Regions from separate parts of the Homo sapiens genome. Here regions 1, 2, 3 and 4 are each linked to region 5. The links are contacts of gene promoters, found by promoter capture Hi-C in blood cells and fetal thymus (Javierre and others, 2016). All regions are on one chromosome and are shown on one strand. The core of a region is centred on a gene start or on the middle of the fragment in contact, and the rest is flanking DNA. Distances in the headings are between cores, read along the strand shown. Region 1 overlaps ITGA6 (integrin subunit alpha 6). Region 2 overlaps GORASP2 (golgi reassembly stacking protein 2). Region 3 overlaps GORASP2 (golgi reassembly stacking protein 2). Region 4 overlaps ITGA6 (integrin subunit alpha 6). Region 5 holds the start of DYNC1I2 (dynein cytoplasmic 1 intermediate chain 2).

Evidence for each region. Contacts are between HindIII fragments. The CHiCAGO score rates a contact against its expected background, and 5 or more counts as called.
Region 1: a contact is called between a fragment that was not itself captured here and the fragment with the promoter of DYNC1I2 in region 5, in 2 of 17 cell types (fetal thymus and activated CD4 T cells). The highest score is 6.0, in fetal thymus.
Region 2: a contact is called between a fragment that was not itself captured here and the fragment with the promoter of DYNC1I2 in region 5, in 4 of 17 cell types (fetal thymus, total B cells, naive B cells and 1 more). The highest score is 7.2, in fetal thymus.
Region 3: a fragment that was not itself captured here is called in contact with the fragment with the promoter of DYNC1I2 in region 5 in 1 of 17 cell types (total B cells); the score reaches 5.1 in total B cells.
Region 4: a fragment that was not itself captured here is called in contact with the fragment with the promoter of DYNC1I2 in region 5 in 5 of 17 cell types (fetal thymus, total CD8 T cells, naive CD8 T cells and 2 more); the score reaches 6.5 in fetal thymus.

Annotation. Positions count from the first base shown.
Region 1 is chr2:172,444,856-172,450,796 of GRCh38, reverse strand. The region is part of intron 1 of ITGA6 (integrin subunit alpha 6); the gene reads right to left. Among named protein-coding and RNA genes, the nearest start is that of ITGA6-AS1, 18 kb to the left of the region's middle. The HindIII fragment of the contact is 8,425 bases long and covers 1-5,941 here.
Region 2 is chr2:170,931,277-170,937,325 of GRCh38, reverse strand. The region is part of intron 1 of GORASP2 (golgi reassembly stacking protein 2); the gene reads right to left. Among named protein-coding and RNA genes, the nearest start is that of GORASP2, 5.0 kb to the right of the region's middle. The HindIII fragment of the contact is 5,206 bases long and covers 661-5,866 here.
Region 3 is chr2:170,949,127-170,954,740 of GRCh38, reverse strand. GORASP2 (golgi reassembly stacking protein 2) reads right to left here. Exons shown (of 10, transcript NM_015530.5): 3 at 4,999-5,202; 4 at 4,451-4,537; 5 at 3,283-3,413; 6 at 1-91. Among named protein-coding and RNA genes, the nearest start is that of GORASP2, 23 kb to the right of the region's middle. The HindIII fragment of the contact is 3,326 bases long and covers 1-2,913 here.
Region 4 is chr2:172,430,129-172,436,175 of GRCh38, reverse strand. The region is part of intron 1 of ITGA6 (integrin subunit alpha 6); the gene reads right to left. Among named protein-coding and RNA genes, the nearest start is that of ITGA6, 5.6 kb to the right of the region's middle. RefSeq lists enhancers at 894-1,394, 4,654-5,853. The HindIII fragment of the contact is 459 bases long and covers 3,572-4,030 here.
Region 5 is chr2:171,682,677-171,688,748 of GRCh38, reverse strand. It overlaps DYNC1I2 (dynein cytoplasmic 1 intermediate chain 2), which reads right to left and starts at 1,280. Exons shown (of 18, transcript NM_001378.3): 1 at 1,122-1,280. RefSeq lists an enhancer at 1,110-1,279. The HindIII fragment of the contact is 4,493 bases long and covers 1-1,432 here.

The DNA.
Region 1 (5,941 bases), core at 1,070-3,569, 760 kb before region 5:
ATTTAGTAGAAATGGGGTTCCGCCATGTTGGCCAGGCTGGTCTCAAACTCCTGGCTTCAAGTGATCCACCTGCCTCAGCCTCCCAAAGTGCTGGGATTACAGGCTTGAGGCACCATGCCCGGCCCCCTTCTCTATCTTACTAAATGTACACCATCTACCCAGGTGCTCAGGCCAGAAACCTAGAAGTCATCATTGATTCTTCACTTGCCCTTATATCCCACGTCCAATGCATCAGTAAAGTCTACAGGCTCTACCTCCACATTTTACTCTGACCACTTCTCAGTAGTTCCTTTCCAGTATTCTCACTGCCAACTTTAATCCAGTTTGTGATCAACCCTTTCATTTGTGTTTTGCTTCAAGGTGGCCACTTTCACTGTCTGCTCTGAGCTCCTGCAAACTCCTAAAACAAAGGCCTGAGTCACCATCACATCATACCTGAACAACTATAGTATCATTCTAACTGGTTTGCTTCTACTCTTGTTCCACCCGAGCCCGTCCTCCACATCTGTTCTTTGCAACTGCTGTTCTTTGCACATCTCAGGTCATATCACATCATTCCTCTGCTTACAGCCCTCCAGTGGGTTCCGATGGGCAATGGAATGAAATTTGAATTCCTGCCACATTCTACAAGGCCCATGGTGAGTGGCCCTTTCTCTGCCTCTCCAGCTGCACCCTCTAAGGTGTGCACTCCTGCCACACTGACTCCGTTTCTGTCCTTTGAACATAGCAGCCTCATTTCCATCTCAGAGTAACCGCAGTCGCTTCCTTTGGTTCCGAACACTCTTGACTCAGATCTTCGCTGGTTGCATCCTTCACATTCCTCAGGGCTAACTCCACCATCCTCTTCTCTCTCTTTTTTTTTTTTTTTTTTTTTGGAGAGGAAGTTTCACTCTCATTGCCCAGGCTGGAGTGCAGTGGCATGATTTCGGCTCACTACAACCTCTGCCTCCCGGGTTCAAGCAATTCTCCCGCCTCAGCCTCCCAGGTAGCCTGGATTACAGGCATGTGCCACCATGCCGGGCTAATTTTGTATTTTTAGTAGAGACGGGGTTTCTCCATGCTGGTCAGGCTGGTCTCAAACTCCCAACCTCCCAAAGTGCTGGGATTATAGGCGTGAACCACCACACCCAGCCAACCATCCCCTTTCTCACAGAGGCCCTTCCTTGAACAGCCTAGCTACCAGCTTTCTCTAAATCACCCCTACATTCACCTGATGTAATAATCTTCACAATCTTCATCAGTACCTGAGATCGTGAAAGTCAGCTGTCCCATCTTTCCTCCCCTAGAATGCTGTTAGCTCCATGGGCACAGGGACTCTTCTTCTGTTCCCTGAATACAACATCTGGAGCAGTAGCTGGTATATCCTTGGCATTCAATAAATGGGATGAATACAACCTTAGGTACCTTAGGTAGATATTATTCATGCATCCCAATATTTTTCTTCGCCAAAAAAGTAGCAAACGAACTACTCATATTTGTAGGACATTCTATAATTACAAAATCCTTCACATATACTTTTATTCAAATATCTCAGCAATTGGGGGGTAAGTATCTTCATTCTAGAAAATAAAAATCTGAGGCCCAGACATTCCCTGACATGGGTAGGGCTTCCAGCCCAGTGCCCTTCCCACTGTGCAGCATTCTTCCCACCACAATTGGGAGCCCTCCTCCTCCATCTAGCCACACCCTGGCCATCCACCAGGAGCTGCCCCTCCTCCTTTCACTTCCCAGGCACACAAGGACTTTGACGCCTGTGCTCACATTTTCCTGCCACCTTGCCCCCAACCCCATAAACACTGTCAATTACCAAGCTCCAGCTCCAGGCCTTACCTACGATTTTGCCTTCAAGACCCCTAACTCAAGTTTCATCATCTCCAAGGGCAAGTACTTCTCCCAATTTCACTTTACTAGGCTATAAACTCCTTGAGGGCAGGAAGCAGATCCTGCTTTTTTTTGTAACCTTAAGGGTGTTTGGAGAAGAAAAACCAAACCCTATTTTTAAATTATACTTACTGGATAATCCAGTTGGGCAAGTGTGAGCTAAAATTCACAGTGGAACAAATCCAGCCCGGAATTTTCATGTTTACACAGAAAGTTGGTTAAAAGGCTGAGGCTCTCTTTTGACTATAAACTACAACTCCACATTCAAAAGACTAGATTTCTAATAACCTTCTAAGAAATCACAAACATAGCCTACTTTCAAAGGAGGCAAACAAGCTATTATTAATAATGCCCCAACAGCTATCATCTCCTATGCTCTCATATTAGGTACTCTGCCTAATAACATGAGACACTATAAGAGACAATAATATAAGAGACACTATTGCCATTACCCATTTTACAAATGTGGACACAAATTGAGAAGACAAGTAACTTGTCCAAGGTCACACAGCTGGTAAGTGACAAACCAGGAGTTGTGCCTAGCACTCCTGGGCTCCCAGATCTTGCTCTAAACCACTACTCCAAGAGTCTCCTTTCTGCTTGATTTGATGACATCACTACACCCCAGTTTACTCATTAAAAAAAATCTATTACAAGAGCATGGTCAGTTATAATTAACGTCTATTAAGTACTTTGAGATCTGTGCTAAAGGCAAAATTAAAGGCAAAGAATACCTGTTACCTTTAACTGGAGCACAAGACCAGCAATTTTATCCTGGCCTTCCCAAAATTTCACAAGATGCCTTCTTTCCTGCCTCCTTGAAAGAGCATGCTAGAACTAAACCCATTTTCTAGTGAATATGATGCTCATGTGACATTTGCGCCTGAGGGTTCTAGTTCTTAACCTGACTCAGTTAAGTCCAGACTGAGTGTCTGGACTTTACTATGGGTGTGTCTCATTAAGAGCAAGGGAGCTCATGCAGTAAAGGAACATCCAAAGCAGAACGTGTTTTTAACATCCACAACTTTCAACTCCTTCAGCTCAAAGTCTTTACCACGTACCGGGGGAAAAAATGTGAAATCACAACCCTCAATTTCAACTATTTAAAGGGAATATGCTAATAAGAGCGGTCAGATCAGGAAAATGGAGGAGGAGACAGGAAAAGAATTCTGGAATTCTGGTTCTATCCCTAGGATCTATTTTTGGTGTGACCTTGGTCCACCAACACTTGCTTCTTACCTCCCAACATAAGAATTTCAATAACCTCAAGGAAAAAAGAATAACATTAGCAACAACATAAAAATCACAAAAGCAACTGGCCTGCATTTAAAATGATCAAGAATTCCACTTCAACAGAAATTTGTAAGTACAGAAATAAATATATAACTAGCTCATTTTAAAATAAAATTGGGGCTGGGTGTGGTGACTCACACCTGTAATCGTAGCACTTTGGTAGGCTGAGATGGGCGAATCACTTGAGATCAGGAGTTCGAGGCCAGCCTAGTCAACATGGTAAAACCTCGTCTCTACTAAAAATACAAAAATTAGCTGGGCATAGTGGTGGACGCCTGCAATCCCAGCTACTTGGGAGGCTGAGGCATGAGAATAGCTTGAACCTGGGAGGCGGAGATCACACCACTGCACTCCAGTCTGGACGACAGAGTGAGACTCCATCTCACAAAATAAAAAATAAATAAATAAAAATAAAAATAAAATTTGGCTAGGCGTGGTGCCTCACACCTATAATCCCAGCACTTTGGGAGGCTCAGGCAGGGAGATCACTTGAGGTCAGGAGTTTGAGACCAACCTGGCCCACATGGCGAAACCCCATCTCTACTAAAAATACAAAAATTAGCCGGGCACGGTGGTGCACACCTGTAATCCCAGCTACTTCAGAGGCCAAGGCACAAGAATCGCTTGGACCTGGGTGGTGGAGGTTGCACTAAGCCAAGATTGCGCCACTGCACTCCAGCCTGGGCAACAGAGTGAGACTCTGTCTCAAAAAAATTAAAAATAAAATTAAATTAGGTGAAAAGTTTTCAGCTGACCAAGCAATTCATACCACTAAGACATCTCTTAAAGAGCCACAATAAAACACTGTCTACTGCAGCAAGGAAAAATGAAAGTCCAAGTTCTGATAATTGTCTCCAGGCAATCCTGTTCTTTCAGTTTCACAAGGCAGCTGCCAGATCTTGTCAAATGTGGCATTTAATCATTTCCTGTGCTTCTGAATTACCAGATACCCGACTTATCAGTTGCCAAATGACATTTGTGATTTGGAGTCCAATCTCTAGTGAGTTTTCCTTTCAAGAAACCAAGTCTAGGAAACTGTACACACTTGGATTGTGAGCTCACCATTTCCATCCCTGACCTTTGCACAGTGCTCGGCACATAGTAGATGCTTAGTAAATTTCTGTTATGGGAATAAAGTTTTATCATTAATTCATCACTTTTAATAATTTTAAATTCTAGCATGTTGTGACCAAGCAGGTTTTTCTATTTCAAGTGTACCAAGCATAAATATTATCAGTGTTAACTCAAAAAATAAGATTCATGTCTTAAAACCTGTTATCAAATAGTTCATCTGCAAAGGAAAAAGCGACTTTAAATTCCATCATTTTTCAATAAAATATTTTAAATAAAAAACAAGAAGAGAAAAGATAGACTTAATGAGCTCACACCTGGTGGGTCACCATACCCATTTTACTACTCCAATAGTTTAGGAAATACAAATTTTTCAATGCTTTGAAAAGGAAATTAATATGGTCACAGTTTATTTTCTAAATGAGATAAATGAAACAACAGGCTTAGTAGCTCTGCCAGAGAGTGCTGGCTGTCACCCAACATCAGTTCTCCTCTTTCCCATAGTAAAAGACTTTTTAGCTGGGCATAAGGCCACCCTGAATAACTACTACTCAACTGAACCTCCCTCTTTAGCTGGATGTGCCACACAACTCAGTTCTGCTGAATAGGACGTGTGACAAAGCATCACACTGCTGCTTCCAATAATTTTCCTTAGAAGATGGCATGCATGTGCCTTTGGCTCTGTTCTTTGCTCCTTTCTTCAGCTGCCTGGAATGTAGGTGCCACCACCTTGAGTTTGAGGTTGAGGCTCCAGTGGTGGAGCAATAAGAGAGCAAGTCCTGGGTCCCAACACCTCAGACCAGCTACCCAGATTTTTAGAGGCCGGGAAGACAAAGACAAAGCAAAAAGCAAAACCAAAAGAGGTCTTTCAGGCTTTTTTTTTTCTTTTTTTTTTTTTTAAAAAAGACGGAGTCTCACTCTGTCGCCCAGACTGGAGAGCAGTGGCGCAATCTCAGCTCACTGCAAGCTCCGCCTCCCGGGTTCAGGCCATTCTCCTGCCTCAGCTTCCCGAGTAGCTGGGACTACAGGCGCCCACCACCATGCCCGGCTAATTTTTTGTATTTTTTGTAGAGACGGGGTTTCACCGTGTTAGCCAGGATGGTCTCGATCTCCTGACCTCGTGATCTGCCCGCCTCGGTCTCCCAAAGTGCTGGGATTACAGGCGTGAGCCACCGCGCCCGGCCTTTTTTTTTTTTTGTTAAAAAAAAAAAAAGAAAAGAAAAAGACAACAGATTTAGAAATAGGATACTAAGAACAACAAAGGCAATTTACAAAGTATAAATACCAGCCGGGCACAGTGGCTCATGCCTGTAATCTCAGCAGTTTGGGAGGCTGAGGCGGGCAGTCGCTTGAGGTCAGAAGTTCAAACCAGCCTGGCCAACATAGCAAAACCCTGTCTCTACTAAAAATACAAAAAAATTAGCCAGGCATGGTGGTGGGCGCCTGTAGTCCCAGCTACTTGGGAGGCTGAGACAGCAGAATCACTTGAACCTGAGAGGCAGAGGTTGCAGTAAGCCAAGAGCCCGCCACTGCACTCCAGCCTGGGTGACAGCAAGACTCTCTCTCAAAACAAAACAAAACAAACAAAACCTACAGAAATCAAGTTATATGCCTAAACGCTTACATTGTTTAATACTCCATTCCTGCACTTACAGATTTAAGAATATTTAGGGACCAGTATGGCTTGGGAACCAAT
Region 2 (6,049 bases), core at 2,014-4,513, 750 kb after region 5:
AGGGAGGGAGAACTGCTGGAGCCCATGAAGTCGAGGCTGCGGTGAGCTGGGACTGTGACACTGCACTCCAGCCTGGGCAACAGAGCAAAACCGGGTCTCTAAAAATTTTTTTTTTTTTGTGATGGAGTCTCACTCTGTCGCCCAGGCTGGAGTACAGTGGCACCATCTCGGCTCACTGCAACCTCCACCTCCAGGGTTCAAGCGATTCTCCTGCCTCAGCCTCCTGAGTAGCTGGGATTACAGGCACGCGCCATCATGCCGGTCTAATTCTTGTATTTTTTGTAGAGAGGGGGTTTCACCATGTTGGCCAGACTGGTCTTGAACTCCTGACCTCGGTGATCCACCCGCCTCAGCCTCCCAAAGTGCTGGGATTACAGGCGTGAGCCACCGCACCTAGCCTTAAATTTTTTTTAAAAAAATTAACGAATTAATTAATTAATTTTAGAGACGCTGCTGTTACCCAGGCTGGAGTGCAGTGGTGTGAGGATAGCTCGCTGCAGCCTCAAAGTCCTTGGTCAAGTGACAATTTTGCTTTTATTGAGACCGGATCTCATTATGTTGCCCAGCGTGGTCTTAAACTCTTGGGCCCCCACCTCACCTCAGTCTCCTGATTGGAGTAGCTGGGATTACAGGTGCACACCATTATGCCCGGCTTAAGCTTCCTTATTTCTGACAATGTGCTTGAGCCTTCTCTCATTGATGCTTAAAAGAGAGAACAAAACCCCAGAATAATTATCTTCATGCTACAGTAAATTTATTTGCAATGCCAACAGGGAAATGTACAGTCTCTCAAAGTAACTACTTAGGACTAGGTGTGGTGGCTCATAAGTGTAATCCCAACACTTTGGGAAGCCAAGACGAGAGGATCGCTTGAGCCCAGGAGTTCAAGACCAGCCTGGGCAACATAGAAAGATCTCTCTACAAAAAAATTTTAAAATTGGCTAGACGTGGCAGCATATGCCTGTAAGCTACTCAGGAGGCTGAGATAAAAGGATTAATTGAGCCCAGGAGTTCAAGGCTGCAGTGGGCCATGACCACACCACAACACTCCAGCCATAGTGACAGAGTGCGACCCTGCTTCAAAAAAAAAAAAAAAAAAAAGTCAGTTTCAAAAGCACATATCAAACTTTCTATTTCCTAGTTTACATTAGTATTTTATAGTGAATCAATCAATATATATAATCCTTTCAATAGAATATTAAAGTAAGCAAAATGAACACACTGATGTTAACGGTTATTCTAAGCTCAATTTTTATAAAATTTGCAGAGGAATTATTAAAAAGCCCTGTTAGTATCTGACCCAGAAGGCAGAAGAATCAGTGTTGTACACTCTACTACTTACTGAAACCATAATTAACCACTAACAGCAGATCTCCCCCAGTGAGAATCCTGAGGATGATAGCGCAGGCATTAAAACACACCTCATCACATAAGTACGAAAGCATATACAGGCCGGGCGCAGTGGCTCACGCCTGTAACCCCAGCACTTTGTGAGGCTGAGGTGGGTGGATTGCTTGAACTCAGGAGTTCGAGGGCAGCCTGGGCAACATGGCAAAAACCCATCTCTACCGAAAATACAAAAAATTAGCTGGGCATGGTGGTGTGTGCCTGTAGTCCCAGCTACTGGGGAGGCTGAGAGGGGGGAGGATCACTTGAGCCTGGGAGTTGGAGGCTGCAGTGAGTGGAGACTGTGCTACTCATTCCAGCCTAGAGTGAGACCCTGTGTCAAAAAAAGAAAAAAAAAAAAAAAAAAGAGGTGGGGCGTTGGGGGTGCTGGGTGCAGTGGCTCCCACCTGAAATCCCTACACTTTGGGAGGCTGAGGTGGGCAGATGACTTGAGGTCTGAAGTTCTAGACCAACCTGGCCAATAAGGTGAAACCCTGTCTCTACTAAAAATACAAAAATTAGTTGGGTGTGGTGGTGGGTGCCTATAATCCCAGCCACTTGGGAGGCTGAGGCAGGAGAATCACTTGAACTGGAGTGGCGGAAGTTGCAGTGAGCTGAGATCGCGCCACTGCACTCCAGCCTGGGTGATAGAGCAAGACTCCATCTCAAAGAAAAAAAAAGTGTATATAATCAACATGAAACTACTAATTTGTTCAAGGCCTATTAATATTAGAAAAAGTTTATGTTCAATGATATAATTCCTAAAAGTATCCCAAGATTTATATACATTGTATTCCATGGCTTCAATAAACTGAGACATCCTGATTCCTACATTTGAAAGCAATTTAAAAGAATGTTTATTAAACAACTTCTGGGCCTTTTATTAGAAAAGATCAATTTTGGGCCTGGCACAGTGGCTCACGCCTGTAATACCAGCACTTTGGGAGGCCGAGGCCTGTGGATCAGCTGAGGTCAGCAGTTCGAGACCAGCTTGACCAATAGGGTGAAAGCCCATCTCTACTAAAAATACAAAAATTAGCTGGGCACGGTGGCAGGAACCTGTAATCCCAGCCACTCTGGAGGCTGAGGCAGGAGAATTGCTTGGACTTCGGAGGCGGAGGTTGCAGTGAGCTGAGATTGCACAACTGCACTCCAGCCGTGGCAACAGAGCGAGACTCCATCTCACAAACAAACAAACAAACAAAAAAGAAAAAAAAGGAGAGATCAATTCTGGGGGCAGGGTCAGACTCTTCAGGTTTCACAATTATAACTTTATATATAGAAAACAATACCAAATAACCCTACTGTTTTCTTTTTACCCATTGTTTCCAGAATGAGTGAGAAGGGAGCCAGAGTGAGATTTCTGTGTTAGGGGATGAGGTAGGGCGTGGTGGCTAACACCTGTAATCCCAGCACTTGTCGGAGGTGGAGGCGGGTGGATCACTTGAGGTCAGGAGTTCGAGAACAGCCTGGCCAACATGGTGAAACCCCACCTCTACTAAAAATACAAAAATTAGCTGGGCGTGATGACAGGTGCCTGTAATCCCAGCTACTTGGGAGGCTGAGGCAGGAGAACCCGGGAGGTTGCAGTGAGCCGAGATGCGCCATTGTACTCCAGCCTGGGCAACAAAAGCGAAACTCCATCTCAAAAAAAACAAAACAAAACAACAACAACAACAACAAAAAAAAAAACAGGGTATGAGTTTCAAAAGTTTGAGAAAGACTGTTAGAAGAATAAAGAAGACAATGACTATTGAATATCAGAAATTAATTTTTTCAAAATAAGTACTAAATTGAAATCCCATCACAACAGGATTGCAGATAGGTTAGTTAGGCACCATTTAAAAAGAGCAGTACCTTTGGGAGACCTCATCTCTGACAAAATAGAAAAAAATATATAAAAAGAGCAGTTCCATATGATAGAAGATATGGTGTAGGCATTGCATTTTCTATAGAAGTAATTCCACTTGCAGTCACTTGCTTCTCTGAGAACACCTAAATGTTACCCAGTCTGCAGCAAATAGCTCAGAAGATAAAAACCTGTTATTACACTCGTGACACATTTCATGTCAATGACCCTTCCTTCAAAATATCCATCACCTCAAAATCTCTCCCAGAAGCAAGCATGAGAAAGAATGAAAATGCCATTTTCCATGTCTCCACACTCCACACAGTCTCCACACTGAATACTTGCTCCAGAAAGTATGCCCTCAGCTATTCCCCATCTCTTTTAAGTGTGGAACAGAATATGAATATTTTAATTTAAAAGCAGATCCTATAATAGGCATCTGTGAGGTCACTCCAAAAATTTAATTTTGTGAACTATGTCACTAATAATTTTTTAGAGAACCTTGTTTATTACCTTTCAGCTTTATTTTCCTGAGCACTCAAATGTACCTGCACATACACAGGGTGTTTGAAACACAATTTTGAGCGAATGTATAGCATTCTATCTGTGGTTAGGCCCTGATTTGTTTAACAATTTCTCACCTGTTGGATATTTTGGTTTAATTTAATTTTGAAAATGGTCTTGTTGGGTTCACTGGATAATTAATGGAAAATATAGGCAAAAATTTGATATTAAACATAGTTCACATGTAGGGGGTAACTTACAATAACTTCAAAAACTGAGAAGCCCTAACATTTTTCCTGCCTTACATTAGGATTGGAGGACCAAAATAAAAGTGCCATTCATAGTGAGCACAAATCTGACCCACTATATAAGGAAATCTGAAATGCTATTTTTTAAAAAAAGACTTCTACACAAATTTTTAAATCCTCCACTAGGAGTCCACTTCTTTTTTAAAAGTAATTTTGCATATCTACACTTTGGGTGACTATACAAGTATTTAATGATCACTTCAGAAATCCTAGAAAATATATTAAAGTTAAAAAAAAAGTCACCATCCACTAATAATTTTTTAGACAACCTTGTTTATTACCTTTCAGCTTTATTTTCCTAAGCACTCAAATGTACCTGCACACACACAGGGTGTCTGAAACACAATTTTGAGTGAATGTGTAGCATTCTATCTGTGTTTAGGCCCTGATTTGTTTAACAATTTCTCAGCTGTTGGCTATTTTGGTTGTAATGTTAACCTCTTAAGATAACTTTTGGCCATATAGTCCTTGAATACGTCATATTATTCAAAATCTTTGTGAAACATGGCTAAGGGGCGATGTTAGGCCCAGGAAAAAAAGGAGACTAAGAGAAATACTTCAACAGTATTTGCCTTTAGATGGTGGGATTACAGGTAATTCAGGTTCTTTGCTGTACTTTTTTACCACATCCAAATGTTCTCTAATGGACACATGTTGATGATCAGAAAACAATGTAGTTATTTACTAAAATAAAGATCAACATTTCTACAGACAGCTACCATTAAAATTCAATACAGTAATCTGGGAAAAGGATGTATGTTATGGGAAAACAAAAAGTAGGATTTAAGGTTGTAAATATGTACTTATAATAACAGAAGACTAGATAACCAAATGTTCAACACCAGGAGGTACTCCTTAACCAATCTATGGTACAAAAGACTACCGTGAGCTAACTGAAAGCATGAAGCAGATGGCCACTTGCTACTACAGAAAGACTGCCAAGATAGGTCAACAACTGAGAAGACTGAGGTGTGCAACAGCATGGATCATGATTACAAGGTAACAAAAAGAAAGAGAGAAGGGTGGAAGAAGAAGAGACTCTTTTTTTTTTGAAAAGAAGTCTCACTCTTTTTGCCTAGGCTAGAGTGCAATGGCACAATCTCAGCTCACTGCAACCTCCGCCTCCCAGGTTCAAGTGATTCTCCTGCCTCAGCCTCCCAAGTAGCTGGGATTACAGGTGTGCACTACCATGCCCGGCTAATTTTTTATATTTTTAATAGAGATGGGGTTTCACCATGTTGGTCAGGCTGGTCTCGAACTCCTGACCTCAGGTGATCCGCCCACCTCGGCCTCCCAAAGTGGGGATTACAGGTGTGAGCCACTGTGCGCGGCCAAAGAGACTTTTTTATAAGCATAAAATATATCTGAAAGGCTATGTAAAAAACTGTCCACAGTGGTTACTCTGGAGTGGGGATAAGAAGTTGGGTACACAATATGATCACAATCTGAAAATATGCACTCATACATACAGAACACATAAAAAGGAACTACACTGCTCATAGCAGAACTTCTGAATCCATTTAAAGGCTGTCCCCTAAATATTTTTAGATGGATATTGAAAAATAATGAAAAAAATGGAAAGCTCAATCTATCTGAATTATAGGGACTCATGAAATCAAAAGACAGCAGTGGATATAAATGTTATTATAATTGGTATTTCAAAACCCAGTCAATCATATTAAGTTTTTACTACAACAAGATTGGCCAGGGAATTGGTTATTCAAGAAAACTAACTTCTAATTAAATCGTTCTAGAACTTGTTGAATATGGGTGATTTTATTCAAAATTTTCCTGCCACAGTTACTCCAGTTTACAAGCTTGGTAATCTAACAATGAAATATATCGCTGTCCATTTAGGCAATAACAAATGAAAGGAAGACATTTTTACATGTTAAGATTTAACACAGCACTTTTCCCTCTAAAAACAAAGATAAGAAAACCAATTACAGAATCAGGGGCAGAGGGTCTTAGGAAGGCAGACACAAAATTCTCCTAAACTAGA
Region 3 (5,614 bases), core at 1-2,500, 730 kb after region 5:
CATTTGTCCTGGAAGAGAAATTTTCTTTCCTTCCTCAAATGGGCGTGTAGGTATTCGATGCAAATAACCATATCCAATGCCACATCCTAGGCTATAAAAACATTTTTTTCTTAACGTTGTTATCTATCACAGCTTGTATTTCTTTGAGGTGTTTTTTTTGGGGGGGGCGGGTAACCCAAGAGCATAGATTCAAGTTGCCCTGAACATGCACTCCCTTCTTTGAGATTTTAAAAGATAAAAACAAACAAATTTCTATTCTTTTAGATAATGTCATCTAAGCAGAGGTCTCCCAGACCACCCCACAGAAAACAACACCCTGCCCTCCACTGTGGATATCACCCTTACTCCTTTATTTTTCAAGAATTCATCACCATCCAACACACTGCATATTTATTTACTATCTATCTCCCCCAACAAAATGTTAAGGTCCTGAAGGGCAGAGACCTTGTCTGTTTACTGCCTTCATAGCTGCCGGCACATGGCAGACATTTGATGATTACTCGCTAAACAAATGACATCGATACAGCCTTTCCACTGAAGAGCTCTAAGCACGTCTGTATGATGACATCATTTACACATTCCATAGTTCTCTTTCAGAACCTGACACAAATCAGTCATGTATGTTCAACCCAGATCTCTTCTATTTCATCCTCCCACTGCCACCAGAGGCATTTTTCTAGTAAGATGTGATCACATTGCTTCTTTCTAGTCTGATGTCTTCTCAACATTCCTTTCTCTTTCCTCCCTTTGGGGAATTACTTCTCTGCTGTTGTGTGCAGTGCTGGTAGGATTGTCAATCAGAGTGTCTGCCCTGCCCAAACCAAGGGAATGGCTCATGGTCAAAGCCAGGCCAATTTCTCTTGCCCATGGCTGCAAACCTTGGGAGTCAGAGAAAAAACAAAAATGGGTTTAGTAGAATGAATGCTGATGACATTGCCAAATACTTCTTCCTATCTAAATCCCTAGGTTTTCTGAGTCCTGTCCTTTCTACATCTGGTTCTTCAGCTGTTTCCTTGATTATATGAGCTAATCCATATCATTAAGTATGTTATCTGCTTATGATGGTGACAGCTAGTTTTTACCATTTGAACCCAAAACCCCTTACTGATACAATTATCACAGCCTCAACTGCTCAAAATATATCGGAAGTCCTGACCGTGGTATTTAAGGCTCTCCATAATCAGGTTCCAACTTATGTTTCCATCATGATGTCTTTTATTTCCCAAACAACTTGACAATTTCAGAGTAGGCCATGCATGAATACCTCTGTGCCCTTCTCCTGCCACATCATCTATTATCTCCACTGCCACCAAAAGCTGGGTGAGCAGGCAGTAGCCAACTTCAGCCTTTTTAATTTTATTTATTTATTTATTTATTTATTTATTAAGACAATTTATTATTCTGTTGCCCAGGCTGTAGCACAGTGGCATGATCTTGGCTCACTGCGACCTCTGCCTCCTGGGCTCAAGCAATCCTCCCGCCTGAGCCTCCTGAGTAGCTGGGACTATAGGTGCATGCCACCACATCTGGCTAATTTTTGTATTTTTTGTAGAGACAACGGTTCTTCAGGTTGCCCAGGCTGGTACTGAACTCCTGAGTTCAAGTGATCCACCCGCCTCAGCCTCCCAAAGCGGTAGTACTACAGGCGTGAGCCACCATGCCAGGCCTAGCTCCTCCTTTACCAGTCTGATATGCACAATGATGCTTCATCTCACAATTATTTGTTCCTTCTTCCCTTCTTCCCTCACAATCAAAACTGCAATTCGGCCAGGCATGGAAGATCACACCTATAATCTCAGGACTTTGGGAGGCCAAGGTGGGAAGATTGCTTGAAGCGAAGAGTTCAAGACTAGCCTGGGAAACAAAGCAAGGCCCCATCTCTAAAAAAGAGTTTCTAAATTAGCCAAGTACAGTGTGTACACCTGTAGTCCCAGGTACTCAGGAAGCTGAGGCGGGAGGACAGCTTGAGCCCAGGAGTTAAAGGCTGCAGTGAACTATGATTGTGCTCCAGCCCAGAGAGCAAGACGCTGTCTCCAAACAAACAAACAAAACCCTGCAATTCTCACTGGACTGGGATTTAGAGAAATAAAGATTAAATAATTTATAGTGATCAATTATGGCCTTTCAGAGGTAGCTACATTTGAAAACAAGGTGCTTATTGGTCAAAGTAATTAAGTGGTAATAGACAATGCACTTGAGGCAACAGCAAGACCCTGGGCAAACTTAAAGACAGCCTAAGAATGAAATTAAGAGAAATAAGATTTAATAAATGAAATGTGGTCAGCCTCTGAGGAAGGAATAAAAACAGAAGCACAAAAAGACCAAATGCATGGTCAGAGGCAGACTGACGAAAATGTTCTGTATGGGCCTAGCTAATGCAATGGCCAACTGACAGTATTAAACACATCAAAAGAAAAAATGTCTTCCAAAGAATGTAGCCAAATTTAGTTAACATAATTAAAAATGAAAGAATATGTGATGTTCTTTGCTGTTGGTCTTCACTGTCCACAGAATCTCTTCCTCCAGTTTGATTCCATGCTCAGCAGGCACTCTTGTGGTACTAATCTGACCTGAGTATTCTTCTAACTAGAGAGGGGGTATTTTTCTATTGCAAACTGAAAATTTGTCATTCAAATATAGCAGCTTCTCTGCAAATGTAGTTTATATGAGGAAGTGCCTCTTGTAATGAATAAATTTTGAATGCCTCGAATAGATCCTATTTCTGGGCATTTACAAACCTGGGCAATGGACAATGATAATTTGATCAAGTATTGCCCCATATAGGCCAGACTCTTGGATGACACATCTATCTTACTTTTCTCAAACTGCAACAAGTTAGAATACTTGTGGCGAAACATTCAGCTGGAGAATCTCAGGTAGTGTGGGTAAAGATACTGTGAGCAAACGGAAGCTTTTCCTGCCTGCAGCAACTAAGTTATCCTTTTCCCAGCATGGGATTAGAACTTTTGAAAACATGTGGAATGTTTCCAAATTCTAGGCTTTTCTATAATTATGGCTTATGCGCAATAATTTCTCAATTAAAAAGAAATGCTGTTAGCTCTTAGGTTAGTAAAGAAAAGGACTATAGTATATATACTATGTTCCCTAGATATGTACTTTAAAAAAATTGGTTTCAATATTCTAGACTAGCTCTTCCCTTTTTTTTAAGAGGAGTCTTAAAATAAACCAGTAATTTCTTTCAAAATAAAAACAATCAATGTCTGCAACATATCTGACTGGTATGTTTAAGCAGTCATAACTTAGTCTAAAAAATGACCTTACCTGCCTTCTCCACCCCATGCAGAATTTGGTGTAATAATCACTTCTCGACAGTTATCAGTGTCTGTGTTGTACACATACAGTTTCAATGGTTTTGCTTCATGTGTTTCGATAAGGCTGAATAGATCTTCAGACTGCAAAAGTGTCACAGGAGAAAATGTTTCACGTTACCATACTTTGGAACAGTGTGTCTCAAACCTGGCTATCAGAATCACCTGAGAAATCTAAGAAAAAAATACAGATTCTGGGCCCTGCCCCAGACATAAAAATCACAAGCAGGTTTAATTCAATATATTAATTCAAGCAAAGCCTACTTACTACATACAAGGCTTTATGGCCAGTTCCTTAAGATCTAGTTGGCACTCTTAGTACAATTCTTTTACACCCGAGTTCTACATATTCTGCTTTTACTTCCCATTATTAAGACCTGGTTGTCTGGGCACCTCATTTCTCACTCTTTTTTTTTTCTTCTTTTTTTGAGACAGGGTCTCTCTAACTGTTGCCTGGGCTAGAGTGCAGTGGCATGATTTTGCCTCACTGCAGCCTCAACCTCTCAGGCTCAAGTGATCCTTCCACCTCAGCCTCCCAGGTAGCTGGGACTATAGGCATGCACCACCATGCCTGGCTAATTTTTGTATTTGTTGTAGAGACAAGGTCTCACTATGCTGCCCAGACTGGTCTCGAACTCCTGAGCTCAAGTAATTCTCCCATCTCGGCCTCCCAAAGTGCTGAGATTATGGGCATGAGCCACTGTGCCCAGCCTTTTCTCTCATTTTTGATTTAGCAATGTATACTTCCGCTAGCTAAGAGACAAGGAAAAGGATGTAATATAGCTGAGCTAATGCTGTCACTGAACAAAAAGGGGAAGAGAAAATGAAATCAATGAACAATTGAAAATGAGAATTTGATTTAGACTTCAGGTATGCAAAGATTTCTGTATATTACACATAAAATCTGTGCAATTGCCGCACAGTATGTGTTTTTCCTCACAGCTATACCTAATAAGACACCTACCAGATGTTCCATTTAACACCCTGAGGCTTAAGTTATTTTTGATCAGCAAAGACTGAAATTTTAACTCTAAATGCAAAGCATGCAAATATCTTTCTCAACTCAAACCTCAATGAGAAAATTTTATATAGTTCTCACTATGAATAAACACACGAATTACCTCATTCATGACTGTATCTGCTCCAATTATATAATCACTGTGTGGTCTAAGACCTGCCAGTGCTGCAGGAGAATTTGATTCCACCTCCTAGAATGACATAAACACACACCCTAAAATTAATATATATAAAATAATCTTCCAAGGTTTATAGTCCAATTTTTAATTATGTTGATTTTTTAAATCTGTATACTTCTGTCTTGCTAGAGATGTGTCAGATGTCAGAAACTACAGAATATATTTTAAACTTCTGAGCATAAAAATTACATAATATTTAACAAATATTTAAAATATTTTTGTAGCTATCTACTCTAACACATCTTATAATGAATAAATCATTAGAAAAAGTTCTTAAACTTGTACATTTGCTTCTCTTCCTCAACTTAAAAAAAAATTGATCCATACTTAAAAAGCAATGAACGCTGATTTTTGGCAAAAATTGCCTATTAATAATATCCTTACAATCTTATTAAGCCAGAAACAACCATTGTTAAAACATCTTTCCACACTGCTTCATGAACCTCCAGTAACAGTTCACAGTTGATACGTACCAGCACATGCCAAACATTTTCATTTGCCCCATCAAAGCTGCAGAAACGAATGCTCACTCCCAATAAGCCCTGGCCGCCCCACAGGTTACTTGGTGTGACTGAGGTCTCTCGCAGTTCCAATGTTTTGCTGCTATAGATAAGCATCTTTACAGGCTTTTCAACGTTTGCTTTCAGCAGATCCTTAAGAGTGTCATTGTCTTTATTCTGTGAACACATAGAAATCACATTCCTTAGTAAATAAAAATTTAATGTTAGCTTAAGCATCCTATGGCCCTATAAGAGTAATATTAATAATCAACATAAATAAAACATTCAACAAAGGTTTCACCAACATTTAAATTTTCTTCTATGTAAAAGAATGTCAAGAAATTAAGAACTCTTACGTTAGCAACAACTTGAAACTGACTTTTTTCTAATAGCTCATTATGGATTATGGAATTTGCAACCCAACATTATTTAGAATGATCTAGGGCTTCAATGTGTAAAAACAAAATATGCCATAAGAAGTCACATTACTAACGAAGTTGTGATGACTTTGATTATAAAAATCTAAAACATTTACTGGGGTTAACGTTTAATTTTGGACTCTATTTCTAAATACATGCTTTATTAAGAG
Region 4 (6,047 bases), core at 2,552-5,051, 740 kb before region 5:
CAGACCCATCTCTCTTTGCACTTGTAAAGTCATGGAGGTCTTCTTCATTCATCACCCAGGTCTTTAAGCCACCTCTCAACTTTTTCAAAGTATCGCCTTAAGTCGGTACCTGGGCCTAGTCTCACCAGCAGTAACGAGGACTCACTGGCAAATATTAATAATATCCCTTTCCTAAAATTATGTCTCTGTATGTCCACTTGATCATTTCTGAGCCTCTTTGAACTCTTCCTTTTTTGAAAACTCTTGGGGCTGGGCATGGTGGCTCACGCTTGTAATCTCAACACTTTGGGAGGCCAAGCCAGGCTGATTGCCTGAATCCAGGAGTTCGAGACCAGCCTGGCCAACATGGTAGCATTCTGACTCTACTAAAAACACAAAAAAATTGCTGGGTGTGGTGCTGCACACTTGCAGTCCCAGCTACTGGGGAGGCAGAGGTGGGAGGATTGCCTAAGCCCAAGGAGGTCAAGGCTGCAGTGAGCTGAAATCGCATCGCTACACTCCAGCTTGGGCAAACAGAGTGAGACTCTGTCTCAACAAAAAAAAAAAAAAAAAAAAAAAAGAAACAAAACTCTTGGGTTTTGTGTCGTGGCAAAGCTGGATTCCTTAGGTCCAATCAACAGGTTCTCAGCACCTTTGATTGGAAAACAATGGCCTTTTTCCTACCTATCTCTAATCTCTCTGGAGCCTTGTAGAATTGTAAACATTTCCATTTCACAACTTTTATTGTTTCGATACCTTTGTTCTAAAGGGACATACATAATCACACTGCCAGTAAGAGGCCATCACCCGCAAGATATATCAGGGGAATGGGGCCTAGGGAGGATTTCTTACTACCCTCAGCAAGAAGGAAAGAGAACAGAACAACTCCAAACTCTCAGTGCTGCTGAATGGGGCATCCCTACCAGAGGCCAACCATTCCACCCCTTGGCTGTGATTCACTTGGATAAGGATCCTCTCGTTAACTTTACATCACAATGCTTTATCATAATGGCAGCATATCCTGAAGAGAAGGGCTCCTGATTCTGCAAGGACAAAGGAGTTATTTGGCTCAGGAGGGCTTAGGTTCAGTGACATTCTGCCCTCTGGGTCTGAAATGTTTATTATCATTTGCATCATACACACACACACACACACACACACACACACACTTAAAACCACCTCAGTACAAATGAACTTCCTTTTCAAAATGAAGAAACCACAGTGACATTGATATCACCGAGCAAAGCAAACAGAGCTCTTGGGTAAAGAGGCATTACTGGGTGCTTCCTTACTCTTCAACTAACCAGTGTGCCCCTTTCAAATTATTGCAAAGTTTATTTTTATTTCTGTACTCCCAGGCTTAGAAAGCATGTTTCTCTCAAAGGCTTTTCTTATACTATATCTGAAATGGCTTTTCAAAAAAGTAAGTTTCAGATTGTATGACATGCAAAATATACTAGCCGCTTGGCAAATAAACATGCAAGCAGATACCCACGGCTCCATGTCATGAGTTTTTGCCCTTTGTGACTTGCGTTTAGTGGTACTTCATCCCATTCCCCCTAATTCAGAACAGTCTTCTTTACCATTTAATTGGTTTTAGAGACTTAGTTTTCTAAACAGTCTTTCTGCCAATTTAGGATGAGATGAAGCGACAGTGGGATCCAACGTTGGAATCTGGCATGGGGCTGAACTGGGGAGGGTCTGCTGCCACACTGCGGCCTGAGAACAGTCTTCTACAAACATGCCAACCTCGGAATCGGTATGCTGGTTTGAGATCGTCTTGCCTTGTTTATCTAAGCAGAAAAGCCAGATAGCAGATTTGATGGTGGTTATCAAACCCTGTTATTAGTTGACAGGGACCTGCACTGGTGAGAGGCCCATCTACCTGCCCCAGTTCAGGGCTAATTAACAATTAGCCTTTTAACTTAATTCCAAGAGATCAGTGTTTGCAAATCTAAATGCCAGTTTAACAAACCTGTGAAGGAAACACTACTTCCATATTTGCCCACATACTTTCCAACCTTAGGCAGTTTTGTCATCAATAATCCACAAGCTCCTTCCTAGCAAACATTAGTGCCAAGCAAAAAACTAAGAAAAATAAATCGTTTTCAAACCTGCCCTGGGTGTTGTGCAAGTTATCCAGCCTCCTAGGGATGGAGGTGTGGGGGTGCTTTCAAGGTCATAGAGGTCTAAGAAGGCCTGGAAACCAGACAGGTGGTATTCCTTAGCAGTAAGCCCAACCTATAACTGCACCACCCACCCTCCATGGGTATCCAGCTCACAGTCACTGCCCCGTCATGTCTATGCACCCATCTGTCCACTCATCTCTGAACACTGAGACCTCACTGGGATTTATCTATGGCTTAGTAGCTACGAAGGGCTGCTAAGTAGAAGGCATGGCTCTTCTGAGATGCACTTTTCAACTGGAGAGTGGAATGGAAGAAAGGGAGAATGTGATGAAAACCAAACCTTTAAACGTGATGAAAACCAAACCTAAAAGGAGAAAGCACATACACAGCACAGGCCGGGAAGCAGGGAAGATGCAGATTGAAGACCAAGTTTGCTAGACATGCCGCCACCACTGCACCTCTTACAGCCTTGGTTTCCTCATCTATTTAACAAACACAAAATGCTCACTCTGGACCAGGACTATTCTAATGTGCGAGGATACTAGCTTCACAGCTGAAGGCAGGAAGGCCTAGGAAGGTTAGGAATCCTGCACAAAATCATAGCTAGTCAATGGCAGAAAAGGGTTTGATCCTACCTGGCTCTAGGCTCTGCTCTTAGTCACTACATTACACTCTGCCTTCTGTGTAAAGGAGAAAAGCTAGTCTGACTCAAACGAAGAAGACTTTAAGAACAGCTTCTTGGAGCACACTTATGGAAACTGACGTAACAGATCTAGGCTGGGCTGAGAATCACACTTTTATAAAAGGTTGCCCAAGTAGTTACCCTGAAGACCAGCCAGGTTTCAGAACCCCTAAGCTTCCTTCCAGATATAAAGTTATTTGATTCCAGAGTTGTACCCAAGCCCAGAAAGGGAAGATGGGCACCGGGGGCTGAGACTACGTCCACTTCCCACTGCTGCAGTACGTAATCTTTACCATCCTCCCAGGAGCCAGCGGGGGTGCTACACAGATCCCCAGATCCCATGCTATGGCTCCTAGGCTCACCCCCGGAGCAGGTAAGCAGCCTTCCCACCATCCTACCGAAAGAGTTAAATATATCCAAGATTCCCTTACTATCCTTGAAGAAATAAACCTGCCGCTATCAATTCACAAGTGACTTCACACGTGTACTGCACACTTCCATTTGACCCCCACACCCCTGTCAAGTTGCTTTCAGAAAGATCTCTATTCCACAGTCATCCTTCTCTGTCCAGCCTCATAACAACCAACCACCTCAGCAAGTCCCGAGTACCCACTGCAGTGTAGGTCAGCCTGTATTTCTGGGGTTAGGTTCTAAAGTCTGCCTTTAGGGCAAAAGCCAGGTGAAATTTACAAACACTCATGAAAATCCCTTAGCTGGAACCCCCCGCCTTTGAAAAATCAAAAACCAAGAATTAACGTCTTGTGCGTTTCTTTGCTAAGCTTACAGATTCCGTTTCCTCAGAGGCAGAAGACACCAAGGCCTGAGCAAGGAAGGGCAAAGGGTTAAAGAAAGGGATTTCTCCCTCTCTCCACCCTCAGCAGGAAGAGTTGATGTCACAGGTTAAACTGAGTGTATAATATCAGTCTCTATTGTATTTGCAAGGCATATGCTAGGTGCTAGCAGGCAAAGAAATGAATGTAAGACCCCTGCCCTCACATAACCTACAATCCAGTTGGGAGAGATTAGATCATGTCCTAAAGATAGTGGATCACAGTTTAGCACAAAACATCAGAATTGTCAGACACAATGTGCTACAGACATCCAAAGGAGTTAAAGACATTGCTTTAGTGTAGGATGGGGAAATTTTAAACTGGTTCTTAAGCTATGATTATATTCTTAAAATGGGCTGATTCAGCACTAAATCAGTGTTTCAGGCACAATTGACCCTGTCATCTAAGCTTACAACAGTATTTTCTGTTTTGTCTCACTGTCCCTCTTGAAAATACCAAATAATTCACTGGCCTCACTGTCCACAGTAATATGTTGAGCCGAGGTCTTCAGGAAACCATGCGCCATAATTCTGGTACTATTTGGTTATGAAAGCTTAAATTAAATCTCAATATATTGTTATGCTAAGAGAGTCTATATAACTGAGAACACAGAATAACCACTTCTTTATAATAAAGGAATCCTTTTATATAAGCATTTATCCTGACTTCCCCAACAAATTATTTATACCATATAAATACTTTGACCCTTTTTTTCCCCAACCCTGTCATTACTTGGTCTCACACCAGCCTGTGTTAAAATTAAACTTGCCTATTTCTGCTTTCTTGCAGAGTCCTAAGACTTCCTGTAAGTCTCGCTGCCCGTTTTGGCTTTTTCTCTACTCTTAGCATTCAAGGTGACCCAGCAATCCCTGGAAGATGGCCCTGGGCCACATGGCACTCCGAGTGAATAAATGCAAGGAAGCAAGTGCTTAGGTACACATCCTGAATACAGCTCTGATTCTTGGCTAGCTACAGCCACACTTCACTGGGCTTTTTCAGAAGGGAATGGGGTGGAGGCAGGCAAAGAAGGACGGACCCAGAACTTGTTCCAAGGCCAGCTGGAATAGAGTCAATAGTAAGAGTCCAGGCACCAATATTTAAATAGATAGCCCTGACCTATGCATATGGGAAGCAGTTTGATAAATCAACACAATATAGTACACTTCCAAAATTCAGATGCTTGCCGATTTCTCTAGGTCTGAAGAACATTTCTGGCTTTTCCATTTAAAAATGGCATGAGCATGGGTCAGAGATTCAAATCCACATTCTGTTAAGATTCTGCTCAAGCTGAACTTTCAGCTTCAGTTTCTTCATCTGTAAAAAGAGGCAGTTGGACTAGATGATCTCTAGTTCAGAAAATATGATTTTAAGAGATGGAACATGACAAGTCTGAGAAAAGTCAAGAACAAACCTAGTAAGGGTCAGAACAGAACAGACCGCGGGCCTGGAGCATTTCTGGAAGACAGTGGTGGTCAGAGAGAGAGACCCCATAAAGAAGAAAATGAGGGTTGGCAGAAATCCAAAATGACTTCATGAGACTATCTCTTATAGATCTCCTTCTTCTAGGTTCTTCCCTGTGATCATATATAGATCCATCTCTTCCCAGAAGAGCTAAGAGTGATGATTCATAGGCTGGATATACCCACAGTCATCATCACATACCTTCCACCTCTGGGAATGACTCAATCTTAACTACCTAAGAGAAATTAAAGAGTCCAAGGTGCTCAGACCCTGACCTCAGTCACTCGGCGGACCAACTTGGCTGACCATTGAGTAATCTTTTGGAGTCCGAAACTTCTTTAATATACAGCCTGAAAACCTGGATGAAGTTTATGGTATCTACTTCAATTTTATAGTCTCCAAAGCTTTAGGAACACCCGACATGTTTTGGGGCTCTCTGACACAATATTATTCTGCAAAAGTCATAACTGGAGTTTAAAATGTGACTGAATAGTTAAAGGCACTATAGAAAATTTGAACTACAAACATTTATGATAGGTCTTCTATGATCGTGCTTTTATCTGACCGTCCCATGCATCTGATATTTTACTTCTCCTTCCTCAAAGTCCTCTGTTCATTAAACTCACTTTTGTTATAAGTCTAATTAAGACCTATTAAAGTTAAGTTGCTTTGAACATGGGTTTCATAAATATGACTGAGTTTAAAATATCATTACCCAAAAACAACCACCTTTGGCTTTACTCTCAGGCAATCTTAGAATCACAGAATGTTTAAGACACCTTGTAAGGTACCTGACACACAGTAGGTACACAATTACTGCTTTTTAAATGATCATTAACAGCTACCATTTAGTCAGCAAGTACCCATGCCAGACAGGCATTAAGCACTTTGCATATTATCTCTTAATCCTCATAATAACCCCAGTAAGCAGTAATATCTCCATTTTACAGATAAAGAAATTAAAGC
Region 5 (6,072 bases), core at 31-2,530:
GTGGATAAAGGAAATTTCAGCTACTAAACTCCATTAAGACTGGCAAGCGAATTGATAATTTTCAAGCATACGAAAAGGATGAAAAGTTGACATAGCAGACCTGAAATATATACACAATATCTTCCAAGATTTGTTTGAACAAACTAAAAGCAAGAGACCGTGTTTCTTATTCCACTCTTTCTACACCTCTAAACAGCTCCATACAAACGGCTGGTGAAGAGAACTTCCATACGTAACTGTATGCTACGCTAGGCACATTATATTTTGTTCAACGTCAACTGTAAAACAGATATACCAACACTAATTGATATTAAAATAAGCGCATTTTTAAAGCCCAACAACAAAGTCTTGACCAGCTGAACTACAGCTGACCAATCCTCTCATCCTCACAGAAGCCAGAGCCTTCCTCCATGACCGACATGTTCACGTTCTTAAAACTCAAGAGAAGAGAGTCTCTAGAGTTTTGTGCTAGAACCTCCGTGTTCGGGGGCTTTCCATCACACATAAGGTGAGGGGAGACACTATCAAGGCAAGTAGAGATGGCCTTAATTTGTAAAATGGGGCAAGGCGAAAACGAATCACTTTCTCCCCTGGGGTCACGGCCAAGAGGGCGCGGTCCACGGCAGGGCGTCCGGAAGAAGCCAGTGGGCGCCGGACAAGCCTCAAGGCTCCCCAGGCCGCCTCTGGAGGGTCGAGAAGGGAAAGGAGTGGACTCCTCTCGCCGGGCCGCAATGAGTCACCGCACCCAGGTCTCCCCGCCTTTCCTCCCCAAAGCTGGGCCGGGCGGGGATGTCAGCAGGAACTGCCAAGCCGCCCTTCGAGTTGCGACGTGGAACACAGGCAGGGAGGCCTTGAGGGAAGAACAGTCAACCCACCTGTCAGGTGACTGGATGGGGAAGAGTCCTCCCGCCTGCAACTTCCCGGTAACGTCCCTCGCCTAAGCCCCCAACACCAACTGTAGCCACCACCAGCTCCGCGGCTTTCCAAAGCACACAAAGAGGGATGGGCGGCGGCTGCTACGGCGAGAGCTTAGGGACAAATAGCCTCACCAGAACGAGGTCGCTCCCAGAAATAAAAGGTGGGGCCCTGCTGCGAGGAATTGTAGCCCCTCCGTGACTTACCTGTCGTAAAGCAGAAGCCGGTAGATAAAACAAAGAACCCAGTCAACCCAGGGGCCTTAAGTATTTCCGCTTTGCCAAAAACTGGAAAACTACGCCTAATATTCTCAGGCCAGGAATCCAACTTCCGCCCTCGCCTTACAAACTGACACGATCGAGAAGAACTACAAACCCCGGCAACAAGGAAAACCTGCGTGCGACGAGCAGTGCGTTCTGGGAATTGTGGTCGCTGGGCGTCGCAAGGTGTGCTGGGACATGTAGTGTGTCCCCTCCTTTAGATTTCCCACTCCAAGGCCTTCTTCCGTCGAGAAGCTTCTGTATAAAGTATTCTCGTCTGTTGATCCGTGCCCACAGTGTAGTATGTGTTATAGTGTAAGATCTTTGACCCAATATTGGCGGAATTTTAAGGTCTATTTTCCAGTGGTGAACCTGTGAATCACGCTGCTGCACATTTGGTGAAGACGTGAAGTAGACTGTTTAGGATGTAAAACATTATATATATATATGTACATACATATGTAAGTTTTAGGGAAAGAATGTCTTATATAGGCTTCATGTGGCATCTTAGGCAAAATCTAAATAAAAATATGTCAACTGACATAGCAAATAATTCTTTAGTATTTTGTTGCAGTGTGGTAGCATTTTGGTTTTCTCTCAAACAATTTTAGGAAATAAAGCATTTTGTATTATTGGACTCTCAAACCAAGCTAGAATGTTTTCCACAGTTAGATTTTTAACATACAAAGAAAACAAAAGTTACTGGAACATGAATTTACCTGCAATGTATACATTGACACACCTTTTTAAAGTTTAAATAATTTAAAGCATTATTTGGCAGGAGTTAAAGCTAACACCAAGGTAATATCTTTTCTATGTTCTAGAAAACTGATTGTTCTAGAAGTTCTAGATATTGCCCAAGTCTAGAATGAACCTTTATGATTCAAATTCCAAGTCCTTGGGCTTGTGGTCTTTTTCTTATCTTTCTCTGCCTTATCTGTGGTCTTTTGTGTAGAAAAAAATATTCTAAAAATAAATTTGAGAAAGAAAATCCTTGGCTTTCCACAGCTTTTCCCAATAACCTAACATTCAAAGAGCTTTATAGCTATGTTATTTTTTTACTTCTTTCCTAATAGTTTTCATGTATTAATTTGAAAAAAAATTATTATTGATTGCCTACCATGTGCCAGCAATGGTGATGGGTGTTGTGGTAACAGCTAAAATGGACCAGGCGCAGTGGCTCACACCTGTAATCCCAGCACTTTGGGAGGCCGAGGCAGGCAGATCACCTGAGCTCAGGACTTAGAGACCAGCCTGGGCAACATGGTGAAACCCCGTCTCTACAAAAAATAGAAAAATTAGCAGGGTGTGTGGCATGCGCCTGTAGTCCTAGCTAGTCACGAGGCTGAGGCAGGAGGATGGCTTGCGCCCAGGAGGCGGAGGTTATAGTGAGCTGAGATTACACAATTGCATTCCAGCCTGGGAGACAGAGCAAGACCCTGCCTCAAAAAAAAAAAAAAGAAAAAGAAACAAAAAAAACAAAAAACATAAAAATGCACAAAAATGCACATCCTTCTTCTCAAGGGAGAAAGGACACTCGCTCAACTAAGAATGGATGGTTCCTGACTGATGGTTTAACTTATGATTTTTTTCTCATTACAATGGGCTTATTAGAGTAAAATGCATTTTCAACATATATTTTTGACTTAAAATGGGTTTATCAGGACATAACTCAAGGAGCATCTGTATAATGATGGAATTATATAAGGAAGTCATAGAAACACCTGGAAAAACTTTTCAGGAAACTTTTGGAAGGAGGTGATTCTAGAGCTAAGTCTTTGATTCTCAAAGGTTGAGTAGAAGAAGTTAGCCAAGCAGAGAAGATGCAGAAAGGTGCCTTGGGAAGAGAAAAGAATATGGACAAAGGACAGAGGTGTGAGAGCATAGAATGCTGGTGAATTTGGAAATAATTCACAATGGCCGTAGGCTAAGACAGGAACTGGGGAATGAAGCCATAAGCAGGGGCAAAGTCGCACATCCCAGTTTAGATTTAGTCCTACAGATGATGTGAATCCACTGGTAGATTTTAAGAGGGTGCAAGGTATGAGAAGGTTTGCATTTTAGATGACTGGCCTTTCAAAGTAGTCCGGAGAAAGACTAATGTGCTGGTTATTTTCTTTGCCCCCCAGATTCATTTCCTGCCCTTCTTTGCTAAGCTCTATGCCTCTGAGGGTTGACCTCAGTTTCTTTAAGGACTGCTTTGTGGTTGGACATAAAGAAGGCCAAGGCAAGGATATCAGAAGGTGGGTAGAAAGGGAAATTGGGGCATCTCTTCCTTGCTCCTTCCTTCTTTGAGTGTCAGATGTCCAGCAATAGCTTCATTCCTTCATGACTACAGTACCTGCCAGATGGCTCTTTCACCATGGCTCTAGTTTTCCCCGGGCTGTCTGGTGATTTTATGTTCTCCTTTTATCTCTTGAACACCTCCTCTGTAGCTAGTCTCTGAGTGCCTCATCATCTCGTTTGTTCCCTTAATACCCGCTCACCCCTCTGTAACTTGTCCTTTCATTAAAGTATTTTCATGTGAACTATCTTGTGAATTCTGTTTCTTGTTGAGACCCTTGTTGATACAGCTTGCCTAGAGGGATGAGAGGTGGAGAAAGAGGTAAGGTAGAGACTGGAAGCAGGGAATGCAACTGGAAGAATTTGGGTAGAGCCAGCAATTATAAATGCATGAACTGATGCATCATCAGTGAGAATTAAGAAAAGTAGATGGATTGGAGAAATGTTAACATTATGTGAGACTTCTACAGCAATAAAGCAGACTAGATACCTCTTCCCACTGAAAACCACTCAATATACTGGCTGGATAATGTAGCTTTTGAGTGGGTACAGTGGCTCATGCCTATAATCCCAGCACTTTGGGAGGCCAAGGTGGGAGGATCACTTGAGCCCAGGAGTTCGAGACCAGCCTGGGCAAGATGGCAAAACCCCATTTCTGTAAAAAATTTTAAAATTAGCTAAATATGATGGTACTCACCTGTAGGCCCAGCGACTTGGGAGGCTAAGGGCGGGAGGTTTGCTTGAATCCAGGAATTTGAGGCTGCAGTGAACTATAATCACACCATTGCACTCCAGCCTGGGTGACAGAGTGACATCCTATTGCTTAAATAAATAAATAAAATTTAAAAAAATGTTTTAAGATATGAAATACGTAACTAAAAAACCCCCCACTTTTTTGTTGTTTTATTTTTAACACTTTTTTGAAGAAATGCATTAGCAGCACTGATTAGAAAGACTGTACCCTGGACATTACATAGTTCAAACCACTATGTCTTCCTACTTTTTAAGTTGGAAGGGCTGGGGAGGAGTCCTAATAAGCATTAGTGCTGCAGGGTGTTTTCGAAGGGGAGAATTTGCATTTTAAAACTTCTTATAATGGTTTGTAGGAGAGGGTAGAAATATAATATATACAGATGAATTTGTTGAACAAACTCATATCTGGATTTACACTTGAATTCAATATGCCAATGTTTGCAAAATTTTAATACAATTAATATATTGACATAATGCAGGATTTCATTTATATAGAATGCAAAAGAAGGTAAAACTAATCTAATGAAATGTCAGAATAGTGGCTATTGAGGTATAGGGATATTGATGGCAAGGGATATGGGGAGGTTTCTGCGGTGCTGGGAATGTTTCATTTCTTCATCTGGTGGGGGTTACACACATTTACATATCTGTAAAACATTCATTGACCTCTACTCTTAACATGGGTCCTTTTTATTGTATGTATGTTATATTCAAAAAATAGTTAAGAAAAAAGTAGCTATTAAACCATGGGACTTAAACAAATGTATAAAACATCAAAAAGATGTAGCAGACACCAAATTGGAAGAGGAAGGAATTTGAAGGGGTTAAAAATGTATTCTGCTACCCAGCAGTTCAGGCATCTCAAAATATTCCAGGAACTCTAGTAAGTCCCAAGTAATCAGCTAGAACATTTATAGCCATTTGTTGACAACCTTGTTATATACATCCTCATCATACAAGTTTTTAATGAAATTATGTTGTGAAAAGAAAGCTGTGGCCCCATAGCAATGCATGAAGCTTTCTAGTAATTATATTTTTAATGCTCTTGCGTAAATGTCACTTGATTGGTTTATAACTTTGCTAAAATGACATGTATAAAATCTAATACATACATTTGTGTGACCTTCTTACCATGCAAAGAACATTTTCCAGGACCTTTTCATAAATATTGGATTGTTATTATTTTTTCCACATTTTAATCAGAGGTCCTCTAAGATTTCACTTTGGTTAAGTTCATGAGGTTTCTACCAGATTGCCTGTGGAATCTTGAGATTGTTCATTCTTCACATGTTAACAGCTCTTCCTGAGTCACTTGTGTTTTTAATTTTTTTCTAAATATTTCCACTTCACCTTCAGTAAATGTATTTGACTCTTAGAAACATTGGCATGAGAAAATATTTTCTTCCAACTTTGGAAACTCTCTTAACTTTCCCATTTGCTCTCATGTCTAAGAGAAGCTCTTTAGGAAACTATCTTCACTCAGGGGAGTGTTCATGAGCTGACCAGCAGGTCTCTGATAATTTAACAGCATTACTTTTCTATTATCCTTATTATTGTTCTAGTCTGTATTTTTCCCTTTGGAGTGTTTGCTGCATTGTTAACTTAATATAGGTTTTTTTTTTCATTATTTCCTCTACTTGTCTTGATGCACATATTTTCTCTGTTAGTGTCAAAATAAGGTGATGGTGAATTATGAGTCCCTTCTGAGCCTAGAATACTTTTGTAATCTGGTAACCTTTGGCATGAAGCACATATCCTAGTGAATGATGGAGCACTTAAGAGTGATTCGCCACTGAGCATTACAGAAAATAGGCTGAGGGGCTCAAAAATTCAAGGCAAGTTCCTTCTACTCAGCATGGTG